Regions from separate parts of the Homo sapiens genome. Here regions 1, 3, 4 and 5 are each linked to region 2. The links are contacts of gene promoters, found by promoter capture Hi-C in blood cells and fetal thymus (Javierre and others, 2016). All regions are on one chromosome and are shown on one strand. Each heading gives the region's core, a stretch centred on a gene start or on the middle of the fragment in contact. The rest is flanking DNA. Distances are from core to core; before and after follow the strand shown. Region 1 overlaps LOC399975 (a long non-coding RNA gene). Region 2 holds the start of SNX19 (sorting nexin 19). Region 3 holds the start of NFRKB (nuclear factor related to kappaB binding protein). Region 4 overlaps TMEM45B (transmembrane protein 45B). Region 5 overlaps NFRKB (nuclear factor related to kappaB binding protein).

The links. Contacts are between HindIII fragments. The CHiCAGO score rates a contact against its expected background, and 5 or more counts as called.
Region 1: a contact is called between a fragment that was not itself captured here and the fragment with the promoter of SNX19 in region 2, in 1 of 17 cell types (total B cells). The highest score is 5.2, in total B cells.
Region 3: the fragment with the promoter of NFRKB here is called in contact with the fragment with the promoter of SNX19 in region 2 in 2 of 17 cell types (total B cells and naive B cells); the score reaches 6.7 in total B cells.
Region 4: a contact is called between a fragment that was not itself captured here and the fragment with the promoter of SNX19 in region 2, in 1 of 17 cell types (neutrophils). The highest score is 6.4, in neutrophils.
Region 5: a fragment that was not itself captured here is called in contact with the fragment with the promoter of SNX19 in region 2 in 2 of 17 cell types (total B cells and fetal thymus); the score reaches 8.7 in total B cells.

The regions. Positions count from the first base shown.
Region 1 is chr11:129,269,637-129,272,552 of GRCh38, reverse strand. The region is part of intron 1 of LOC399975 (a long non-coding RNA gene); the gene reads left to right. It also overlaps a transcript of ARHGAP32 not described here. Among named protein-coding and RNA genes, the nearest start is that of ARHGAP32, 79 kb to the right of the region's middle. The HindIII fragment of the contact is 6,455 bases long and covers 1-2,916 here.
Region 2 is chr11:130,914,924-130,918,040 of GRCh38, reverse strand. It overlaps SNX19 (sorting nexin 19), which reads left to right and starts at 1,562. Exons shown (of 11, transcript NM_014758.3): 1 at 1,562-3,117. The coding sequence starts at 2,102. RefSeq lists a silencer at 1,370-1,649 and an enhancer at 1,770-1,819. The HindIII fragment of the contact is 12,734 bases long and covers 1-3,117 here.
Region 3 is chr11:129,894,328-129,897,381 of GRCh38, reverse strand. NFRKB (nuclear factor related to kappaB binding protein) reads left to right here and starts at 1,804. Exons shown (of 27, transcript NM_001143835.2): 1 at 1,804-1,886; 2 at 2,944-3,023. RefSeq lists a silencer at 1,648-2,087. The HindIII fragment of the contact is 7,376 bases long and covers 1-3,054 here.
Region 4 is chr11:129,859,101-129,862,109 of GRCh38, reverse strand. TMEM45B (transmembrane protein 45B) reads right to left here. Exons shown (of 6, transcript NM_138788.5): 6 at 2,107-3,009. Among named protein-coding and RNA genes, the nearest start is that of NFRKB, 35 kb to the left of the region's middle. RefSeq lists enhancers at 1-276, 1-382. The HindIII fragment of the contact is 3,252 bases long and covers 1-2,912 here.
Region 5 is chr11:129,875,488-129,878,649 of GRCh38, reverse strand. NFRKB (nuclear factor related to kappaB binding protein) reads left to right here. Exons shown (of 27, transcript NM_001143835.2): 14 at 107-186; 15 at 295-341; 16 at 1,265-1,325; 17 at 1,755-1,929. Among named protein-coding and RNA genes, the nearest start is that of NFRKB, 19 kb to the left of the region's middle. The HindIII fragment of the contact is 4,077 bases long and covers 1-3,162 here.

The DNA of each region.
Region 1 (2,916 bases), core at 278-2,777, 1.6 Mb after region 2:
TTCCTAGCTTCTCTTTTATAGTTGGATGTGGACTAAATTCTGGCTAAATGGATGTGGACATAAGTGGTATGTGTGATTTCTGGGTTGTAGCCTTAGAAAGGAAGCTAATCGTTTTCTATTTTCTCTTTATCCCCTTTTGCAGATGAGAGTGTAGGATGTTAATGCACTGATGGGGCATATTATTCAACCTGCAAAGGTGAGGGCAATACCTTAGCGGGGGATGGATGAATAAGATGGATTTTTAGATGATCTTGTGGAGCAGAACTGCCTCCTAGCCTTGTACTTCTCATTTATCTTTGGGTGGTTAGGTGAGAGAGGAATAAAGTTTTATCTCTTGAGCTACTGATGCCTTAAATGAATAAATCACACCTTTTAAACCACCTTTACCTTGGGATCCCCTTCATTTACATTTATTGTCCTTTTTTTGTTTCCTTTTGCAGCAGAAATTTCAAGAGTTGTTTATATTTGCTGTACCTTCTTCTTCACCAGTGATTCTTTAGCCTGATCATTTGAGCTCATCATATGAATTACTCTTCCTGCCAGTGACTTCTTCCTCTCTCTCCCCCAAGTCTTTACCATTTCAGTAAGTGGCATCATCAGCCACCACTTGTGCAGGCCAGAACCCCTGGAGTCATCCTTATCCTTGATTTCTTTTTTTAATTGCACTCCAATGAAATTGTTTTTAATCAAGACTGCAGTGACCTGGATCTTGCCAAAGCTAGTGGTCAGTTCAATGTTTGTATCTTATTTGACCTCTCTCACCAGCATTTCACAGTGGCCAACTTTACTAGTTTTGACCTCTTAGTTGTTCATTCTCATTTTCTATATGCTTTTGCCAGTTTATCTCTACTTTCCCACTCCTTGAAAATTTGGAATGTCCCTCAGGTGATTTCATCCAATTTTTGGTTTCAAATACCATTTATATGCCGATGAGGCTCAAATTCTTATTTCTAGTACTGACTTTTTTCCCCCTTGCGCTCTAGACTCTTGTAACTCCATGCCTCTCCTTGGATGTCTAATGGATACCTCAAAGGCAGCATGAACAAAGGAGGGCTATGAATTACTCTTCCTGTTGGTGACTTCTTCCTCTACCTCCCCCAAGTCTTTACCATCTCAGTAAGTGGCATCATCATCCACCACTTGCGCAGGCCAGAACCCCGGATTCTTCCTCCTCCTTGATTTCTTTTTTTCCTCCTCATCTCATGTTAAGTCTGGTCACCTCCACCTTTATAATATAAACCGAACCTGACTACATCTCACTTTTTTCACTGGCAAAAACCTAGGCTAGGCTAGGCTAGTAGGCTTTGTCGTCTGGCAAACTGCCAGCAGACTTCCCTGCTTCTACTCCTGTCCTTGTCCTTCCCCTCATTCTTACCATACACGGGAGCCAAAATAATGTTAAACGTTAATCAGATCGTATCATTCTGCTTACTGGCTTTCCAATATACTTAATGCTAAAACAAAAACTTAACATTTTACCGTGGAAATAAACCCTTCATTTTGGTCGCTTATGAGGCTCCATATCAGTGGTTCTTAACCAGGGAAGATTTTCCCCTCAGGTGATGTCTGGAGACATTCTTGGTTGTCACAAATTGGGGTAGGTTGCCACTGGCATCTAGTGGGTAGAGGCCAAAGTGGCTGCTAAACATCCAACATCCAGTAATGCACAGGACAACTCCCAGCAGCAAAAAATTATGTGGTCCAAAATGTTTGTAATGTGTGATATGGCTCCTGGCTGCTTCTCTGCTCTCATCTTCTGCTCTCTCTTCTTTTCTTCTTTGTTCACTGAGCCACAGTCTCAGTGATGTTCCTTTTTTTTTTTAAGTAGACTATTTTTACGTTCACAGCAAAACCGAGCTAAAGGTGCAGAAGTTTCCTGTATACCCCTTGTCTTTACACATATGCAGCTTCCCCCATTATCAGCATCCCACATCAGAGTCGCATATTTGTTACAGTTGATGAGCCTACATTGAAACATCATTATCACCCGAAGTCCATAGGTTACATTAGGATTCACTCATTTTTCCCACTTGTTCTGAGAGGAGAAAAAAAAAAAAGACTGACTCTTGGTGTTGTACCTTCTATGGATTTGGACAAATTAATAATGACATGTATCCACATCATAGTATCTTATAGAGTAGTTTGACTCTGCTGAAAATCATCTGTGATTTGGCTATTCATCCCTCCCTCTCCCCAGCCCCTGTCAACCACCAGCCTTTTTACTGTTTCCATACTTTTGCCTTTTCCAGAATGTCATATAGTTAGAATCATAGAGTATGTAGCCTCTTCAGACTAGCTTCTTTCACTTAGGATAAACATTTAAGTTTCTTCCCTGTCTTTTCGTGGCTTGATTGTTCATTTCTTTTTTATTGCTGAGTAATATTCCATTGTCTGGATATACTACAGTTTATTTATTCATTCACCTGCTGAAGGACATCCTAGTTGCTCCTAAGTTTTGGCAGCTCTGGATAAAGTTGCTACAAGCATCTGGGTGTGGTTTTTTTTTTTTAATAAGTAAGTTTTCATCTTGTGTAAATACCTAAGCATGCGATTGCGGGATCATATGTTAAGAATAAGTTTAGTTTTGCAAGAAACTGCAACACTGTCTTCCCAAGTGGCTGTGCCATTTTACAACCTCACCAATAGTGAATGAGAGTTCCTGTTGTCCCACATCCTTGTCCACATTTGGTGTTGTCAGTGTTTTAAATTTTGGCCATACTTATGGGTGTGTGGTATATGACATTGTTTCTTCCCTTTGAATAAAAGCACGTTCTGTCTTAGGGATTTGTGTTTGCTGTTCCTTTTACTTAAAATGACTTATTTTTAATTTTTTTTAGAGACAGGGTTTTACTCTGTCACCCAGGATGGAGTGATCATAGCTCGTTGTAACCTCGAACTCCTGGGCTCAGGTGATCC
Region 2 (3,117 bases), core at 313-2,812:
GAGGGGCAGAGCCCACTTCTCGGGTTCCTTTTCTGCGGGAAGGCAGGCAGCAGTGAAAAGGTATGGACCGTGAAACCGTGGATTCACATTCTGCCATCTCACGGGAGTGCCCAGTCTGCTTAGTGGACACTGATCCTAAATCAAACCATTTGCTTTAGAAGTGATGAATCGTAAACTACGGGTCACATCTAAATGATGGCTTCTTTCGTATTCAAAGGAAGTCTCTGCCCCAACAGCAGCAATGGACGAGACAGGAAGCTGCAACGCACTTCTTGTTGGCAGAGTTTTGGGTTGGGATTTGTTTGAAGATTCCTTTAAACATCTAGGGAGTAGTCCATGATGATGAAAGACTGCTCACAGCACAGAGAAGGTGGACGAAGGGCAACCATGAGCAGCTCTGTGCAAACGATGCGAATCCTATGCCTAAATGGAAAGGAGACCCACCCTGCGGGCACAGCTCCTAGGGCCCAAGGTGGACATGGAAGCTGGCTTCACGCAAAACTGACACTAACACTTTTGACACCTGGTCAGTGCTTCCGGTATTTTGTCTTCCTATAGGTTCCTGTGTAGACAAGTGAAGTCTAATTTGCTAAAACCAAAAACAATCCAACATAGAGCATATTCCAAAGCAAATATATTACAGGATTATCTGAAAGGACACCTCTATCTCTGCTTTCCTTTTCTATGTTTTTGGGGAGGATAAGGCGAGAAGAGATAGAGGGAAATAGAAACCCTCATCCTTGAAGACTCAGCAGAAAGGCACCTTTTCTGTGAGCTTCTCCTTAACCATTGCAACCCACAGTGATCTCTCCTTCCCCTGAATTCCTATAAGATTTTGTATTTTACTATATCGCACGCTGACTGGCATTACTAGATAGCCAATCGCGTTCAAAGCGCTGGCATCCCCAGTTAGCAGGAGGTCCTGGAGGACAAGGTCTGCTTCTATTCGTCCACGCTGCCTCTCACATTGAAGACAGCAGATGCTCAAAATATTTGATTGTTTGTGTAATGCCACCAGCAAATAACCCTCAATCACAAATTTGATTTTGTGATACAGTATATGAAATGTACAACATAAATCTATCTCTGTATCGTTTCATGCCTTATATTCTGCAATTCCTGACAACAAATGAGGGTCTTTGTGCTGGGGACGCGGGGTACCGGCTCTAGGGGAAACCGGATAAATGTTAAGACACATCAGGCCAATGAAACTTCGCCTCCATGAAATTAAAATAAACCGGATTATTGACAGCGTGCCTAAGCAGTAAAGGACAGGCTTCATTTAATAACCAGAACTAGGACGCGTTTTAAAGCGCCTGGAAGTCTGGGTCTTAGCGGTGATTGCTGCGGCGGCTGTTTCGTGGCACTTCGGAAATCTGCGCCAGCTCTTGGCGAGCACGCGCCCCGTGCGCGCTCAGGCTCACGCTCAGGCTCAGAGACTACCTCGCGCAGGGCCGTCAGGGCGGCTCCTCGCCAGCAGAGGGCGCCGGGCAGCGCCGCTCCTCGGGGCGCGCGCGGACGCTCTCCCAGCATGCCTCGCTCCCGTCGACGTCGACCCGGAAGCTGTCGCCGGCGGCCGGCCGGCGGTCAGCCTTCACACAGGCCCGGCTGCGGAGCGCAGTCGCCCAGGTTTACGGCGGCAGAGGGCCGAGGCTCCCGGAGAGGACCGCGATGAGTCCACTTCAGGTCGGGGCTGAGTGTGGGCGCGCGGTTCCCGGCGGCGTGTGACCCAGTCTTCGCCGGCCGCTGCCCGCTGCGTGTGTAAGTGTCCGTGGGCCCCAGGGCCTTGCAGCGCCCGCCCCGAGGCCCCGAAGAGGCCTTCCGCCTGGGGCAGTGTGAAGGCCACAGAGTTTTCCTCCAAAGCCACACCTCAGCTGGAAGGGGCGAGTTGGAGGGCTCTGTTAGTGGTAGCCATGGGGAGACGCGGAGCTGCAGCTGTCGCTTTGCAGTGCCTGTAGGACTTTGAGGGCCTGGAGCCCCGGTTCCCTGAACAGCACCCAGATCGCCCCATATCTGAGACACAGTTCATGCCCCCCTTCCCTAACTCTGAAGTAAAATCTTGAGGGCTGTCATCTGGGGAAGCCACCTTGTCCGTTCAGCCATGAAGACAGAAACAGTGCCACCGTTCCAGGAAACTCCAGCTGGATCGAGCTGTCACCTCAATAACCTGTTGAGTAGCCGGAAGCTGATGGCTGTGGGGGTCTTGCTTGGCTGGCTCCTGGTCATACACCTTCTGGTCAACGTGTGGCTGCTGTGCCTTCTGTCGGCATTGCTAGTGGTGCTGGGAGGATGGCTGGGCTCCAGCCTCGCTGGAGTGGCTTCAGGTCGACTGCATCTGGAACGCTTCATCCCGTTGGCCACCTGTCCTCCATGCCCTGAGGCAGAAAGGCAGCTGGAACGGGAGATCAACCGCACCATCCAGATGATTATTCGAGATTTTGTGTTATCTTGGTACCGTTCCGTGAGCCAGGAGCCAGCCTTTGAGGAAGAAATGGAGGCAGCCATGAAAGGGTTGGTCCAGGAGCTTCGGAGAAGGATGAGCGTGATGGACAGTCATGCTGTTGCCCAGAGTGTTCTGACTCTCTGCGGTTGTCACCTGCAGAGCTACATTCAGGCAAAGGAGGCCACTGCAGGGAAGAATGGTCCAGTTGAGCCTTCCCACCTCTGGGAGGCTTACTGCCGGGCGACTGCCCCACATCCTGCTGTGCACAGCCCCAGTGCTGAAGTCACCTATACGCGTGGCGTTGTGAATTTGTTGCTTCAAGGGCTGGTGCCCAAGCCCCACTTGGAGACTCGTACCGGACGCCATGTAGTGGTCGAACTCATCACATGCAATGTAATCTTACCACTGATCAGCAGGCTGTCAGATCCTGACTGGATCCACCTTGTACTCGTGGGTATCTTTTCCAAGGCCAGAGATCCAGCACCCTGCCCAGCCAGTGCCCCCGAACAGCCCTCAGTGCCGACATCTCTGCCACTGATTGCTGAGGTAGAGCAGCTTCCAGAAGGGAGAGCTTCTCCAGTAGCAGCCCCAGTATTCCTAAGTTACAGTGAGCCAGAGGGTTCTGCAGGCCCCTCTCCAGAGGTTGAAGAAGGCCACGAAGCTGTAGAGGGAGA
Region 3 (3,054 bases), core at 555-3,054, 1.0 Mb after region 2:
TGGTTGGATTTCTGGGTTGTTTGATTCATAATTGCTTGATTCATAATTGCCAAAACCTGGAAACAATGAAGATATCTTTCAGTAAGCGAATAGATAAAACTGTGATATATCGACACAATGGAATATTATTCAGCACTAAAAAGAAATAGGAGCTATCAAGCCATGAAAAGACATGGAGGAAACTTCAATGCCTGTTACTACGGGAAGGAAGCCAATCTGAAACGGCTACATACTATGTAATTCCAACTAGATGACACTCTGGAAAAAGGCAAAACTATGGAGACAAAAAGATCAGCGGTTGCCAGGGGTAGAGGAGAGGGAGAGATGAATATGCAGAGCACAGATGATTTTTAAGACAGTGAAATTACTCTGCATTATACTGTGATGGTGGGTAATGATGTATCAATGTAGGTTCATCAGTTCTTTTGTTTGAGATGGAGTCTCGCTCTGTCTCGCTCTGTCGACAGGCTGGAGTGCAATGGCTCAATCTCGGCTCACTGCAACCTCCGCCTCCCCGGTTCAAGCAATTCTCCTGCCTCAGCTCCCGAGTAGCTGGGACTACAGGTGCCCGCCACCACGACCGGCGAATTTTTGTATTTTTAGTAGAGACGCGGTTTCACCATGTTGGCCAGGATGGTCTCGATCTCCTGATCTCGGGATCCGCCCGCCTCGGCCTCCCAAAGTGTTGGGATTACAGGCGTGAGCCACCAGGCCGGGCCGGGTTCATCAGTTCTAAGAAATGTACCACTCTGGTAGAGGATGTTGATAAAGGGAAGGCGATGCATGTGGGGAGGTGGGGCGGGGAGTATTTGGAAAATATCTTTCTGCTCAATTTTGTTAACTTTAAACCACTTTAAAAAAACAAAGTCTATCAAAAATTATAGTTTACATTGTTTTTACTCTTTTTCTCTTTCTGGTCTTGTCACAATCTCAAGGTAAGGGAAATATCGGTGACAACTATAGAGTGATATTCCACTGCCATTTATACTCGATAGTTTCTAATTCAAGAGCCTCTCAACAGTGTAACAGGAACTTAGAGCATATGTGGAGCCAGTAGAGGAACAGAGATCGGGTTGTTTGGAAACTACTCTCTTCCAGGAAGGGAAGAACATTAGCTCGGCCGGCCGGCTTCTCTGGTCCCATCCACACACAGAACTGAGGATGGTCTCTGCGCCACTGCTGGGAGTACCTGGAATAAGTAGTGTGAAGCCGTACTAAGCAAAACCCAGTGAATAACAGGAAAGGGGCCTTCATATCTAAGAAGAGGAAAATGATGGAGTTTAACTTTAAAATGTGATCCTTCGATGTGTTTACATTCTTTCTGGACATCGAGGGCCCGGGGACGGGAAGGAGGAATGAAGGAACTCGGAAGCACAGGCTGAGGTCGCGTTCTACTCATGTCCTCAACTGTAAAATGGGCACTAATAGTGCATAGCTCACAGGGCTGCAGCACAAAGACGGTGGGTAGAAAGTGCTTAGCATAGGGCCTGGGGCAGGGTATGCTCTCTGCAAACGTCAGCTAATAGACGTGCCTTCGCTCACGGGCTATGGAACTTTGATTCGCGGTCAGGCAAAGACAGGCACTGTCTGGGGCCTCTGGAAGCTCCTAAATCAGGTGAGACGCGCAAGCAGGCTGGAACCTGCATCCCCAGGCCCAGCCGCGCGCAGGCACCCTCGCCGACCCTCCGCTCTCCCGAGCCGCTCCAGGACCCGCCCGCTGTGGCCCCGCCCCGGCACCCTCCAGGCCCCGCCCCGCGCTGCCCCGCCCCTTCCGCCGCGCAGGCCCAGAGCGTGCGCGCACCCAGACTCCTTGCGGGAGCGAGTGCGTCTGGGAGCCCGCGGCCGGAGAAGGGCTGCGGGTTAGGGGGCCGGCGCCCGCGGTTCAGGTGAGGGCGGGCAAGGGGCGGCGAAAGGGTTGAAGTGTCTCCTGGGAGTGGAGGGAGCGGGAGCGGGCGGCTGGGTCCGCGAGGTCGCTGCCCGTGTGGGCGTGGGGAGCGGGAGCGGGGCGTGGGGAGCGGTGCGACGCGTGAGGCTGGGGGTTAGGGTTAGGCACGGCGTGGGGGAGGGGCGGGGCCGAGCCGTGCAGTTCTGAGGATTGGACCCGGGCCTTGGGCCAGCCGGGCTGGCACCGGAGGGGAATTTGCTGCAGAGTTGAGGGCTTTGGAGCCGGCGGTTGCTCTGGAAGGACCCGAGGGTTTAGCTTCTGCGTTGGGGAGGGTCCAGCGGGGAAAGTTAGACCAGGTGCTGAAAGCCAGTGATGAGAGGCCGAGAGGCCTTCGTGGTCTAGTGAAGAGGTTCAGAACGCCCGAAGATCTGGAAATCCTTGGCTTCCGGGGTCCAACTCCCTGGCAGCTGCCTGGTTTTGGTATTTTGAGATTCTGTTCAGAATAGTGGCAGTGCAAAGGTTGTCAGTGGACTAGATTAACTTTAGCTAGACACGCACCGTCACTGAAGAAACTTGTGAGCAAGTTGTATAGAGACCTCCTAAGAGGCAGGTAGGACACTGACTTTGCAGTTGATAGTCTGTTCTATGCCAGTTCTGTTAAGAAGGTTTTATTCTGAGCATCAGGTTGCTTCTGCAATTTTTTTTTGGTGCTATTTTGAAGTTTTGTTAAACTCACATGCTATGTGCTGTCTCACCCGCTTCACTTATTTAGGCATAGGCATGATGAGGATGTCATTTCACCATGTGCTGAAGGGTGATGAGGGGGCACAGTTGCTTGGGGACCACCCACGTGACTTGACTCAACGCTTAAGTTTCTGCTATATCTTTACATGGATCTGAAATCTCTTCAAGGGAGCTTGAAATAATTTAGTGGAACATGCTTCATTTTACATATAGTTATTCTAGAACTGTTCTTTATCATTGGAGAATTTTGGAAAAGAAAAGTACCTGTATTACGTAATTCACACTGTCACTCATCTAGAGATTATTCATTGCAGGATTCCAGAATTGGAAATAACGGGAGGGAGGACCTGGTCCAGCTTCCCTTCCTCAAATAAGGAAATTGACACCTGGCGTGGTAAGATTTGTGGAATGTGGTGTTTGTGGAA
Region 4 (3,009 bases), core at 37-2,536, 1.1 Mb after region 2:
AAAAAAAAAAAAGGTAGAAATTCCAGAGATCTTGTCTTAGGTATTTACTGCCAGCTACAAACAAACCCCTTTTGAATTTACTTAACAAGGAATTTAATAAAAGTAGCTCTGGCATTCAGCCGCAGCCCTGCCCACATTCCTGTTAGCTGAGGTCACCTGACTCTGCTTGTCGTTTTTGCACAGGCAGACGTGTGCATTCTGGAGAGCAGGGAGTGAGTGTAAAGTTTAGGCTGCGTCAGGATGCTGACTCCTCAGAAGTGTAACTTCGGCACTATCCAGCCTGTGGGTGGAATGGCAATAGCGGAGAATGGGAACTTCCTACTGGAGCTGTTTACGGTGACAGCCCAGGATTTGTGCCACACTTGCTTCCTTCATATGCTGGCTTCAGGTTTCTGATAGATGAATGGCACAGCTATGGTGAGTGTTTTGTTTTTGTTTTTGTTTTTGAGATGGAGTCTCACTCTGTAGCCCAGGCTGGAGTGCAGCGGCAAGATCTCAGCTCACTGCAACCTCCGCCTCCTGGGTTCAAGTGATTCTCCTGCCTCAGCCTCCTGAGTAGTTGGGATCAATCACAGGCACGTGCCACCACGCCCTGCTAATTTTTGTATTTTTGGTAGAAATGGGGTTTCACCATTTTGGCTAGGCTGGTCTCCAACTTGTCACCTCAGGTGATCTGTCTGCCTCAGCCTCCCAAAGTGCTGGGATTACAGGCGTGAGCCACTGCACCCAGCCATGGTGGGTGTTTTGTAGGGAACAATTTCAAAAGGACTTCTGGTGGCAACCATTGAGCCTCTGGTTGACAGATATGGGTAAAATTATTCAGAAAACATATCTAAGACAGGATGTGGAGAATAGTACTGTCATCAGTTTATACTTTAATACCACATCTAACAATGTTTATGATAGGGTTGATCACTTCCATGAAGGCATCACAAGCCTTGCTGTGTGAAGGGCATCTGAATACATTTTAATATTTTATATCTGTTCTTCACACCTTAGCCCCTCACTCTGGAGAAAATAGTACATTTTCTTTCTTAAAATATGGTACACTTAAAGAAACCTCAAATGTGGATCTTTTCTTTGAAAGTAAAACTGAACAGGTCCTTCTGCCCACCTGCAGTCCCCAAGGAAAGAACACATGTTACGTTCATTGCCAATAATAGGTCCTTCAGTACTTGTTGAATGAAGAATACTTGTGTTTTTCCACTGGCCAACCAAGGTGGATCCTGAAAGTGGAACCCGGAGTTCTCTAATAACTAAATTAGTGTTTTTAGTAGCTCATTTTGAATCCCTAAGCTGTGACTTCAACTCTGAAAGGCTGGCTAACTCTGGGAGGTTACCTTCACTTAATTAAGTACAGCATTTCTTCCAAAGCGCATGCAGTGCTTTATGTAAATTCTCTCTCCTGGATTTGTGTGACGTAGCAGGGTTAGAATGGTGAGACAGATGCCTGGTTTTGGAGTCATAAGACTGGCTTTGCCACCTAGCATCTGTGTGGTCTTAGGCCAGCCAACTTTTCTTTTTTTTTGAGATGGAGTCTCACTCTGTTGCCAGATTGGAGTGCAGTGGCATAATCTCGGCTCACTGTGCAACCTCCGCCTACTGGGTTCAAGTGATTCTCCTGCCTCAGCCTCCCAAGTAGCTGGGACTACAGGTGCTCACCACCACACCAAGCTAATTTTTATATTTTTAGTAGAGACAGGGTTTCACCATGTTGGCCAGGATGGTCTCGATCTCTTGACCTCATGATCCACCCGCCTCGGCCTCCAAAAGTGCTGGGATTACAGGCGTGAGCCACCGCGCCCTGCTAGGCCAGCCAGCTTTTCTGAAAGACCTCATGCTCTTACACATTACAAGCGGTTGTGAGAATCAAATGAGATAGGGTGCATCTCAGAATCTGAAAAATACTATGCACACGGAAAGTATTATTTGGTCTCTAAGGCCCATCAACTTGGTCCTAACTCACTTTTATCAGTTTGTAGAACTTAATCTTTTTAAGTTCTCCGTATTTTTTTATGCTTTCATTTTTTAATGTGCTACCCTCTCTACCTGGGATGTGCTTTTTCTACAGGGCAAGCTCTGCATTTCCCCTCCTCTCCTTTTTCTCATCGTGGTTTGTACTTGCCTCTCAGCACCCATCACACTGGATGTAACTACAGGCATGTCTCTCCTGTTTGACTGTAAACTCCTTGCTGGACACATATCTCAGGAGTCCTTACAGCCATTTCAGTGCTGTTGCAAAGTGGATATTTAATAAATATTTGTTGAAGGAAGTCTGTTTGCTTGTTTTTGAGACAGAGTCTTGCTCTGTCACCTAGGCTGGAGTACAGTGGCATGATCTGGGCTCACTGCAAGCTCCCCTACCGGGTTCATGCCATTCTCTTGCCTCAGCCTCCCGAGTAGCTGGAACTACAGGCGCCCGCCACCACACCCGGCTAATTTTTTGTATTTTCAGTAGAGACGGGGTTTCACCATGTTAGCCAGGATGGTCTTGATCTCCTGACCCCGTGATCTGCCTGCCTCGGCCTCCCAAAGTGCTAGGATTATAGGCGCGGTGAAGGAAGTTTTTTTAAAAAAAGAACAGATCCAGAAGCAAGATTAGGGTATCAAGATTTTACATTACTAATTCTGAATTCGTTATCCTTTGCTTTCAGCCATATTAAAACTGAAAGCCTTCCATACCTGACGTTTTTCTATCTCATTATACAGCTTTCCTGTCAGATCTTCTTTTAGGGTGACTTTGAAGAATCAGAACATCAGGGCTCCAACTCTCAGTAGAGCCAGTAACCAGCTTCCTGATTTAAAAAAAAATCACCTTTGGCCTAATTTTGTCACTTATAAACAGTGGTATTGCAGTACCCTGGTATGATTAGTTATGATATGTTTAACAATAATTTTAAAATACCAAAGCTTGTGAATTATTTTACTTTCAAAAAATATGTAAGTTAGAATTGTAATTCTAAAGGCACTGTCGTTTGCTTACACATTCTAACATATTTCTAATAAGAA
Region 5 (3,162 bases), core at 410-2,909, 1.0 Mb after region 2:
CTGATAGAATCTCTCTGTGTTGTAGTTACAGCTAGTAAAGAGAAAGCAGGATTCTCAATAATACCTTAGACCTTCTTATTTTTTTATCTCTTTATTCCTCTAATAGGCCAATCCCAAGATAATGAAAAGGAATTAGCTGCCCTCTTCCAGCTATGGCTAGAGACCAAAGATCAGGCCTTCTGTAAGGTATGTTTTTTTAAGAAATACCAGATCCTTCTCACTGGGTTTCCAGAGCTCTTAAGTTTGCCCAAATTCTTTAGTCCATTTACCTGTCAACGTTTTCTTTTTCTCCAGCAAGAAAATGAAGACAGCTCAGATGCCACAACACCTGTCCCTCGGGTGTGAGTACAATACTGTAGTGGTGGGTGGTGTCCTGGGAAACTGTAGTTCAGATACTGCCTTGGTTTTGTTAATACTTCTTGGTATGCTAGAGCTGTAATGGGCTTCAGAGCTCTGAGGAGTCCCCTGGTTCTTCCTGACTTGGCCGCACCCCCTGAGTGAACGGGACTCCTTGTGGAAGGGGCTGTGGTGGAGAGAGGGGACGGCAGGAGAGCCTCTAAGGGGCATATGACCTGCTTTGTAGGTGGACATACTTTTTTAATGTGTACTCCTCCCTGGGCTCCTACTTGAGAATTATTCATCTAGGCCATCTTAGTCCAGTAAATGGAAGCATGAAGTTGAGTGACTTGCTGAAGGTTAGCAGCAGGACCCCAGCTAGAACTTAGATCTCTTGACTCTTAGTCCTAGGCTCTTTATATCACATTGTCCCATGTTTCTTTTTCTTCCCTGGCATGGTTCGGTAGTTTTCTGACACCAGGACAGAGGCCCGGTCTAAGTGTGGCAGAACTTTTGCTTCATGTAATAGAGGTGTAGATCTCAAGCCCCGGGTACTTTCCCTGGAGGTAGAAAAACAACCCTTATCTAACACACCTGAAGCCCTTTGTTCCTCTAAGGCCGAATTGTTTGTTGCCTTTAGAACGGACCTACTTAACAGCAATATTGAAAGCAGTAGTTAAAGATGTCAGCCTCTTGTCCATCTATCCACCCAGTACCTTTCTGGGTTTCTAAGAATCAAGTGATTTTGGAATTACCAACAGGAGTTACTTCGTAGGAGCTGGAAGGTGGGCTCTTCGCCTTTGTAAGAATTGAGTGCTTCTTGAGGGACATCTTTCCATGTCACAGTGGGAATGGTTCTGAAGCAGGGGCAATGGGTCTGACACACGTGCCAGCTGTCAGGGTTGATACAGAATTCTTTATATTCCAGAAGAACTGACTATGTGGTGCGTCCCAGCACGGGGGAGGAGAAACGGGTTTTTCAGGAGCAGGTAAGAACCTAAAAGCCAGTGTAAGTCTCTGCCTCTGTGAGCCATGCAGAGAGATGCTCTGAGCCTGACTCTCCTGCATCTACCTTCTTGCAAGAAACTCATACCTTTCCCCTTAGACCTTCTGTTGGCTGGGATTACTTGTTGGGGGTGGAAACGGTGTGGGGAAGGGGAGTAAGAAATACTTGGATGATCTTGTCTTCCAGGTAGCAAAGTGCCTTCATATTACCTCCTTGTCCCTCTGCTCAGTGACTGGCTCTGAGAACCATCCTTTTCCCACTGTGGTTGGCTGAACATTCCTACTAGAATCATAGAATCACTTGTTCCTTCCTGTTTTAATTGTTCCATGTGGATCTGCTTATATTGTAAGGAAGCCCGAGAGAGAACCCCACTAATTCTGACCTAGAACTCTTGTCCCTTGTCTCTTGGTAGGAGCGTTACAGGTATAGCCAACCCCATAAGGCGTTCACCTTTCGCATGCACGGCTTTGAGTCTGTGGTGGGGCCAGTGAAGGGCGTGTTTGACAAGGAGACCTCGCTCAACAAGGCTCGGGAGCACTCCCTGCTGCGCTCCGACCGGCCTGCCTACGTCACCATTCTGTCTCTTGGTAGGTGGCACGTGTCGATTATCAGAGATCCCTTTCTTCACCCCGCAGCTTTTCTCTTACCAACTCTGAACTCTGTCCTCTCCTTACCCCTCCACCCAGGGTAGGCTTTGAGAACAAGGCATAGTTTTTCAAAGCATTGCAGTTTGGGAGCTGAAGGGGACATCTTCAGCTCCCAGTCTTCTTCCTTAAGTCTGGGCTTACATTTATGTTCATTTAGGAGTTGCTCCCAGACCAGCTAAATAGGTTAAATACAGGAATTTGCTTTCTCCAGGCTATGCTTCATTTAACAGTGAGGATTCTTAGCTTTTTGAATGCCAGGAATCCCTTTGGCAGTCTGGTGGAACTTGTGGACCCCTTCTCAGAGTTATGCTTTTAAATGTATGAAATAAAATACAGTTACAAAAGAGACCAGTTGTTTTGAAGTAGTTATCAAAATGTTAAAACAAGTTTATGGTGCAGAAATATGTGTTGTTACTATGATGTTATATGACAAGATCTAGCAGGAGGTCTGACATTTCTTGAAATTTCCAAGTAGTGATGAGTATAAATGATATTCTTAGCTATCTGCAGTAGCTGTAATATATGAAAATGTCTGATTTCTATTACACCATCACAGCACTGCAGTATATGGTTTGTTCCCTTTGTTCATAATTAAAGGAAATACTTAATTTCAGTTTAAGATGTAATTTTGCTTCCCACCTGAGTTCACAGGCCCTCTGAATTCTTAAGGTGTTACCTAAAAGTGACTCTTAAAAGTGTGTAAGGGCTGGATGCGATGGCTCATGCATGTAATCCCAGCACTTTGGGAGGCCAAGGCAGGCGGATCACCTGAGCTCAGGAGTTCAAGACCAGCCTGGTCAACGTGATGAAACCCTGTCTCTACTAAAAATCCAAAAATCAGCTGGACATGGTGGTGCACGGCTGTAATCCCAGCTACTAGGGAGGCTGAGGCAGGAGGATTGCTTGAACCTGGGAGGTGGAGGTTGCAGTGAGCTGAGATCACGCCCTTGCACCTCAACCTGGGTGACAAGAGCGAAACTGTCTCAAAAAAAAAAAAAAAAAAAAAAAGAAGTGTATAGGGAACTCCAGTGGCTGAGCTGCCAGCTGCTGGAGGGCAGAGTGCACCTAATCCGGCATCAGGGAAGGTAGAGGAGCAGGAACCCCAGGCAGCTTTGCCCATCACTGCAGGTACAGGAGATTGTACCTCCGTAGGAACCCTGCCTGACTTGTGGA